Linked DNA regions of Homo sapiens: region 2 is linked to region 1. The links are contacts of gene promoters, found by promoter capture Hi-C in human tissues and cell types (Jung and others, 2019). All regions are on one chromosome and are shown on one strand. Each heading gives the region's core, a stretch centred on a gene start or on the middle of the fragment in contact. The rest is flanking DNA. Distances are from core to core; before and after follow the strand shown. Region 1 holds the start of DPPA4 (developmental pluripotency associated 4). Region 2 has its middle 230 kb from the start of CD96.

Region 1 (4,223 bases), core at 1,435-3,934:
CTTCTGGAATACACAGCAGAGAGACACAGACAAGGGTTCCCTCCCTCCCCCACAGCCACACCTCCTGCCCCCTCTCTCCATTCTGTTAGGAAACAGTGTTACATATGAATCAATGCTGGTTTGTTTTCTGCAGATGCAGATTAATGACTTTGGAAGACTCACTGCCTCCGGGTAAACTAAAGGACTCATTAATTCAGTTCATTTTACACAATTAAAAAACTTTTTATAAAAAAAGAAAGCGAAAAGAAAAAGCTGGGCTTAGGGGTGCTGGCCTTTAGTCCCAGCTACTCGGGAGGCTACAGCTGGAGGATCATGTGAGACCAGGAGTTTCACCTGGGACCAGCCTGGGCAATATAGGGAGACCTCTTAAAAAAAAAAAAAGGAAAAGGAAAAATAAAAGAAAACCCAACCAGAATACCCCTAAATCTCTCAAATTCATTCCTCTCCAACTCTTTTTTTTTTTTTTTTTTTGTCTTTTTCTTGAAACAAGGTCTCACTATGTCACCCAGACTGGAGTACAGCGGCATGATCACACTGCAACCTCCACCTCTTGGACTCAAGCGATCCTCCCACCTCAGCCTCTCGAGTAGCTGGCACCCCTGCGCCACCACGCCTGGTAATTTTTTGTATTTTTGGTAGAAATGGGGTTTCACTATATTGCCCAGGCTGGTCTTGAACTCATGAGCTCAAGCGATTCTCCTGCCTCCCAAAGTGCTGGGATTACTGGCATGAGCCACCACGCCCTGCTCTTCTGATCCCAACATGTGCTGTGCCAGCCACTGTTTTCTCCAGACACTGTTTTCTCCAGACATGCCCACAACCCTCTAAGTAAAGGCTATTATTTTCATGACTCTCATTTCATGGATGAGAAAACAAAGAGACCTAACGTTATTGCCCAGGTCACACAGCTAGTGAAGGGGAGGTTGGGTTTAAATCCTGTCTGGCTAGCTGCTAAAGCCTTACATTTAAAAATGAATCAATCTGGCCTGGATTTGGTGTCTGTGTTTTTATGTTTTATTTTTATTTTATGTTTTATTTTGAGATGGAGTCTCACACTGTCACCCAGGCTGGAGTGCAATGGCACGATCTTGACTCACTGCAACCTCTGCCTCTCCAGCTCAAGCAATTCTCCTGCCTCAACCTCCTTGGTAGCTGGGATTACAGGCACGCACCATGCCCGGCTAATTTTTGCATTTTTAGTAGAGAAGGGGTTCTGCCATTGTTGGCCAGGCTGGTCTCAAAACTCCTGAACTCAAGTGACCTGCCCACCTCAGCCCCCCAAAGTGCTGAGATTACAGGCGTGAGCCACCATGCCCAGCCCAGAACTCCAGTTATTCTGAATGTTACGTTCAATTACACTGACAAAAGAAAGATGATTCAGTTATACACTTTATACACAAACCTTAATTAGAAAGTCCTACTGGTGGTTACCAAAGGCTGTGGTAAAGAATTGTTAAATCAAAGCCCTAATATCTCCCAGATGACCTCAACTCACCTGGTTTCCTCTTTGCCGCCTTGGGGGTTGCCCAGTCCACAACCTGCACTTCCTTCTCTATTCCTGGGCTCCGTTTACTTACTTTTTCTGTCCGTGGATTTCTAGCCTGTGAGCAGATTACTAACACCATTTGGATAAAGACAGTCTCTTATTTATCATTTTAGGACAAGCAATGAGATGTAGGAAAAAAAAACAACAAAGTAAACCAAAGAACAAAAGAGACTTTGGACCCTGACAAGGGAGGGTTTCAGTCGCACAGCCACTGCTTCCTTCACTTCACATCTCTTGACAATCTGACAGGGAGCACTGATCTGAGGAAAGATTTTTCAAATTATTTTAAGGAGAAAAACTTGAACTTCTTTGGGAGTCAGTAGGTTAGGGGTTCACTTACTGTGCTATTGAAAAAGTTACCAATAAAAATTTATACCAACTTTAGTCATATATAAAATGGGGAACAATAATGACTGAATTTAAAACTCACAATTTGAGATATAAAAAAATACTCGGGCGGGGAGTGGTGGCTCACGCCTGTAATCCCAACACTTTGGGAGGACAAGGCTGGAGAATTACTTGAGGGCAGGAGTTCGAGACCAGCCAGGTCAAAATAGCCAGACCCCCCCACTTGCCCTCTACAAAATAAATAACAAATACTCTATAGACTTTAAAAGCTACTATTATTAGTTCGTTGGCAGATGAAAAGATGCTCGGTATTAGTACAGAGAAACCTGGAGTTTTAGTTGGTTGAGTAACTTACTTAGGAAATGGAATGTATTTGGTACGAGAAAATAGCTTTCTTCAAGCCGCCAGTCTGGTCTCTGAAGTCTACTGTTGCCACAAGTTCCATTATTAAATCCCTTCACACATCCTGCTCAAGTCTCTGGCCACTGTTTTTTTGTTTTTTGTTTTTTGTTTTTTTTCCCCGTAGAATCGTTCTGAAGGAGTGCTCAATCTCCCAATGTCTCCGGAACCATACTTTGGATAATTACATTTAAAGTGAACAGAAAAGGGCCAGGAATAGTATTAGTAATTCAACCCAGACAAAAGTCACCCCATGAATAAGAAAGAATGCAATTTTAGCATTTACAAATTGTGGGGGAGGGAACAGAAGGGGAGAAGAAAAGAAGAGGTGAGGTGGAGAGAAAAAGGGTCTTCGGGCGGCAGGAAGTGGGAGGAGACTTTGCAAATAGCAATCTTGGGGCAGGGGCCATTTTGGAAGCATGTTGCGAGGCTCCGCTTCTTCTACAAGTATGGAGAAGGCAAAAGGCAAGGAGGTCAGTACAGTTTTAGTGGATTTGTTTTCTGTCTGTCTTTGTGTTTCTGTCTTCCCTGGGCACTCCTGATTTTTCCTTTAAGGAGAAAAGAATGTGCCTTCGAATTTTCTCCTCTTGACTTTTTTTTTTTTTATTTTAAGAGTAAGGCCCAAGAATATGATTGCAGCCTGGTATATTGGAGTGAGCAGACAAGTAAGAAATGAGGTTTTCTAGGTTTAGTTGAGGAGGTTGAGTGTGTCAAAAGATGGGGAAAAAAAAAAAAGAGGCCGGGCGCGGTGGCTCACGCCTGTAATCCCAGCACTTTGGGCAGCCGAGGCGGGCGGATCACCTGAGGTCGGGAGTTCGAGACCAGCCTGACCAAAATGGAGAAACCCCGTCTCTACTAAAAGTACAAAATTAGCCAGGTGTGGTGGCGCACACCTGTAATCCCAGCTACTCGGGAGGCTGAGGCAGGAGAATCGCTTGAACCCGGGAGTCGGGGGTTGCGGTGAGCCGAGATCGCCCCATTGCACCCCCAGCTTGGGCAACCAGAGCGAAACTCCACCTCAAAAGAAAAAGTTAAAAAATTAGGTTTTCAGGTTTGTGTTTTGGAACAGGGTTTCACTTTTGTCTCCCTGGCTGGAGTGCAGTGGCACCATCACTATTCACTGTAACCGCCCAGGCTCAAACGATCCTCCCACCTCGGCTTACCAAAGTGCTACTGGGACTGCAGGCGCCCGCCGCTGCTCCCGGCCCGGGTTTTCTGTTTTGAAGAGGTGCTTAGTCCTGTCAGAAAGAACTAACTGAATATGGGGGCTAGAGGGAAATGGTAACAGGAGAAAAGGGTGTTAAAGGAAAGATTTTAGGAAGAGGTAATTGAGCTGAGTTTGGAAAAGAATGAAACCCCTTAATTTCCTTTAGACGGACACAGATCCTAAACCGAGGGTGCTGAGAATGAATTCGTCCCCTTTTCCCAGCGTCCTTAGGACCTAGGAGTAATCAGAAGCCAGACATTGGGAACAATGCAGACAGAAACTGAAGGAAGAGAGGATTTAAGACGTTGCACAGGCACTGAACGGCCATATCCGAGCGCTCTCAGGTCCTCTTGACTTGAACTGGGTCATTTTTAACTGTCTCGGTTTTAAGTCTTTTGTGAGGTCCAAAGTGAGTACTTTTTGTAAGGTTTATGCAAATATAAATTTCAAATCAAAATGTAGAACTGCTATAGAGATGTAAAAATGCCATACAAATGTTAATTTGTCCAGTAATCCACCCTGAAAGTGAAGAAAAGGATTTAGATTTAGGAGAAATTTTATTATATTAATTTTTTTTTTTTAATGAGTTTGACTCTGTCGCCCAGAGTGGTGTGCAGTAGCCGATCTCGGCTCACTGCAGCCTCTGCTTCCCGGGTTCAAGCGATTCTCCTGACTCAGCCTCTCGATTAGCTGGGATTGCAGGCACGCACCACCACGCCCAGG
Region 2 (4,408 bases), core at 1,554-4,053, 2.0 Mb before region 1:
GGATAATGGACTATAATATTTCTGATTTTACTTTATTTAGGATCTTACATCTATCATTATATAAGCATCTATGAGAGCAAGGAAATAATAATGACTTTAATGTAAAACATTCTGGTATGGAGAAAACAAGGAGGAACTTGTACATGCGGAGGGTGTTTTCTAGGAGGAACTTTGGAAGGAGCTATTTTCAGAGTCAGCTCCTCTCTATAAAGCCAGACCAATCGTATCTATTTCTGCAGAATAAGACTGAAACCATTGTGGAATGCTGAAAAAATGACAGTATATCTTGCGTTTATTGACCTTCCAATATTTATGGATTTTATTTAATATAAAATCTGGAGGGGGAGGGGAATTAATCTGTTATCTCAAGGGCACTGCTTGTGTTGTCCATCAAGAGAGGGGCACTCCTTGCACCATGCTAAACTCCATTTCATGTACTGTCAAATGCCACAGCTGATGGCATCTCAGTGCCTGGGGCAGAGATAGTGTGGTGGAGACAGCCTTGCTCTTTAGCGAACTTATTTTTTTATTCCCAGGCAAACAGTTAGACTATGTTTTCCATCTTGTGTTGCAATTAAATGTGGCTGTTGATGCTTTCTGGCCAATAGAATGTGGATGATGTGATTCATGTCTAGGCAGTCTGAGACCTGATACAGAAAATCAACCCATCACTGAACCAGAGGCCTAGGCAATGATAGAGTCACAAGAAAAGAGGAAACTGGGTTTCTGAGTGCCTGTGTACACAGGAGCCCTACTATACCCCTGCTGCCAATTGTACTTTACATGAAGAAGAAACAAACTTCTAGTGTGTAACCACAGATATTTTGGGGTTATCAGTTCCAGTAGTTAACTGTCTCTAATACAGGAATCAAGACAGGAAGTGGAATGCTGACTTAGTGAAAGCCCAAGATGTGTGCTATTGTTTCAGTGGTCAGATAGCAGACAGTGATGAAATAAAAAGAGCGAGCTACAGTTAGAGAGTCTTGCTATTCTCTGGCCCAGTATTTCATGTAAGTGTCGTCTGCAATAACTGAAGGAAAGGAGCACATGCCTCTGAGCCTAAAGCTGTAAGAAAAGTGGTTGGAAAGAAGTAGAGTGAAAGCGTGTTGTGGCTTACAATTAAATGCCTTCAGTACAGGAGCTCAGACAAGAAATAAGTGTTTTTCATGAATAGATTAAAAGGAATAAAGTCTAAAAATAAAAAGTCTTACAAGTTTGGAAATCCAGCTGCTTCTGGACTCCAAATTCTAAGAGATAAGACTGGAAAAGGTCCCAAACTGCAAAGACCCACCAAAACTCTTGCTTAAACACACCAGAGTGGTGTTGCAGCAAAGAGCAGAATAAGGGGATCACCTTGGCATTCAAACCTATTGTTTCAGTGAGCCTCAAGTTAGCTGCCAGGAAGTTGAGAGAGGGTTGCATAGAGATGAAAAAGAAAATGAAATCAGGCTTGAGAATTATGTCTAGGAAAGAACTTGAGCATGTTTGCTCTTGCATGGTACTGATTAGATAAGGCAAATAGATCAGAAGCCTATTCAGTCTTTCAGGAAGTTATATTGCTGAATTAATAATATTTTTGCTCTAACAAGGCATCTCTGTTTGTTTATGGCTTAAAACAATTCTTGGGTCCCCAAACTTGTATGAGCAGGAAGCAGGCTGTGAAAGCTGTAGAGCTCCCAAGAAGATTGCACTCCCTGTGCCCCCTTCAGATATGGCCATGGAGGAAAACAGAGAAGGATAAACTTCCCAGTGGGTAGAGCAGGAGTCACAGAGAATGAGAGAGAGGGGAGTTTCTTCCTGAACACAGATTCTAGGGCTGATCAAGTAACTTCTCCACTCAGAGAGGGCCCTTTAAAATACCTGGCCAGGAGGATTTCAGAAATATACAGCAGACCTGTGGTAGCTCTGTGTCTCTTATTCTGCCCTTTCCCATATTGCTTGAGCATTGTTGGGGGAGGAGGGTGGAGTGGAGGAGTGAAGAGTGGGAAACTGATAACTTATTATTTCACTTCATAAGTCAGCAGAGTCTCCACATCTAAGCCTGGTAAGGACATACATTTCCCATAAATGCTGGACTTTGAGTGGGATGTAGGAACTGGCTGAGACTTAGAGTCATCTGCCTTCAGGAGAAGAAGGATGGATCTTATACATGGGAGAAAGAGTAAAATTCATATTTAGTGACCAGGAGAATAAACTGTGGCATGAATTATCTAGTCATACAAGCTATTTTCTTCCAGTGCATTCATTTAAACTATTGTTTCATTCTCCTTTGTAGGTAGCCAAGTTCCGGCAATTAGACATATGGGCAGAATTATGTCCACCTCCAAGCCTAGCCCATAAGTAGTCCAAATGTGCCATACTCACTCTTTTCCCTCATTTTCCAGCTGCAGCCTGGGAAATCAATAGAGGACTCCAGGACTGGCAAGGAGGAGGAAGCCTCAGTGCCTAAATGCAGAAGCTCCATCCCTACCCTTCCTCTAACACTGATTGGACTCAATGTGAGCACAATAAAATATTGTGCAAAGCCACTGAAATCTGGGAGTTATTTCTTCCAGCAGCAAGCCTTCCCTTACTAATATAGGTGGGCAGAGTTCCAACCACCTATACTTAGATCATCTCAAATAGAAGAAGAACCCTGGCAGCTCATTAGCTCCCAGAGAGATTGACTTCTAAAATAATTATGTATTATTCATTTTCTTCCTGTGTATCAAACCCTGAATCACAGGACATGAAGTATCCTATCATGAAATAAAGGTCTGATTTTAAACCTAGGCTCTTCCACAGATTAGCTGCTTGTTTTTTGGGTAGGCCATTTAAGTATTCTAACTAGTTACCTTATAGAGTTTTTGTGGGAGGAAATGAGGAGATGTGAAAGTCCTTAGTGCAATTCCTGGCGTATAGTAGGTATTCAATAAGAGTTGGTCTCCTTTCTTTTTTCTATAATAAGAAGTAATGGTTATTGAGCTCTTACTATGTGCTAAGTGTGCTAAGTGCTTTATGTGTGTGGGTGTGTATGTACACACACATATATATAATATTTAATCTCATAACAACCTTATAATGTTGGCACAACTATTATCCAAATTCTACTGATGTTGGATGTAGGGTAAAGGGTGATTGGGATTGCCCAAAGGCACACCATCACATCATCAGTAAAGGAAGTGAAATACAGGAATCTGGCTCCAGAGTCCACCTTCCCACTGTCTGTCCTACAGTGCTTCCCACAGTCATTTGGCCTAGGAAGGAGAGAGAGCATTCCTCCCAGGAGCTGTAAATGCACAAAGGTCTTACACCATGGAATCCAGTCCTGTGTCTTCTACATGGATTCCTCTGATCCACTAGGTTTTTATCTTATTCTTTTTCTATTTTCTCCATTTAACACATTATCTACACAGCTCCTCATTGGCAGGACTATATATAAAAAGCAAGCGTAGTTGTTTGTCTGGTCTTGTCTGATGTGTGGATTGAAGAGAAAGTCAAACAGAAGCAATTAACTGAGGTATTTGTTTTCTCCTCTATGACACTTGCTGAAGTGCCCACCCTGTCCCACTTAAAAAACACATACTCAGGAGTAGCGGTAATGATTTGCGTGCCTCCTTTTGAGTGAACTGAGAACAGTGATTCAGGAATCAAAGTGTAAACCATTTACTCAAAATTAAGCATTGAAACTTTAAAGTTATTATAACTGGTCACCCTTTGGCAAATCTCACAGTGGAGTGTACCACCTGGAGTGTGGTGTACCCACAGCAGAAAAGGATTCATCCTCAAAGTGAAAGTTTGAGCATTCAGAGAGACAGACTCTACCTGATCAATGTCATGGATCCTACACATGTAATTGATAGGTTTCCATGTGTCAGCCTGTTTAGGAGAAATGCATCCCCCCCTGTCTTGCTGTTTTTATTCTATCAGTAGTGGTGTCTTATTGTGGTAACATTGTCAACATCAAGAGAAGGCTTATTAACTCCTAACCTTTTGGGTTGTTTTTGTTTTTGTTTTTGTTTTGTTTTGTTTTGCTTTTTTGAGATGGAATCTTGCTCTGTCGCCCAGGCTGCAAGCTCTGCCTCCTGGTTTCACGCCTTTCTCCTGCCTCAGCCTCCCTAGTAGCTGGGACTACAGGTGCCCGCCACCACGCCTGGCTAATTTTTTTTTTTTTTTTTGTATTTCTAGTAGAGACAGGGTTTCACCGTGTTAGCCAGGATGGTCTCGATCTCTTGACCTTGTGATCCTCCCGCCTTGGCTTCCCAAAGTGCTAGGATTACAGGTGTGAGCCACCATGCCCAGCCTATTTTATTTTCTATTTTGGTTTTCTTATCCTTTGCTAATCCAAAATCTTCTTCCAGCTAAACATTTTTTCTTAGTATAAAACTCAGTAGAAGCAAAGGCAAAGCTTAGTGGATGTAACAGATTC

Evidence for each region. Contacts are between HindIII fragments. The study calls those that stand out against the background at their distance.
Region 2: a contact is called between a fragment that was not itself captured here and the fragment with the promoter of DPPA4 in region 1, in 1 of the 25 tissues and cell types used here (dorsolateral prefrontal cortex).

The regions. Positions count from the first base shown.
Region 1 is chr3:109,336,007-109,340,229 of GRCh38, reverse strand. DPPA4 (developmental pluripotency associated 4) reads left to right here and starts at 2,684. Exons shown (of 7, transcript NM_018189.4): 1 at 2,684-2,766. The coding sequence starts at 2,713. RefSeq lists enhancers at 753-1,360, 2,579-3,186, 3,187-3,795, 3,796-4,223. The HindIII fragment of the contact is 13,883 bases long and covers 1-4,223 here.
Region 2 is chr3:111,308,357-111,312,764 of GRCh38, reverse strand. No RefSeq gene overlaps it. Among named protein-coding and RNA genes, the nearest start is that of CD96, 230 kb to the left of the region's middle. The HindIII fragment of the contact is 4,087 bases long and covers 760-4,408 here.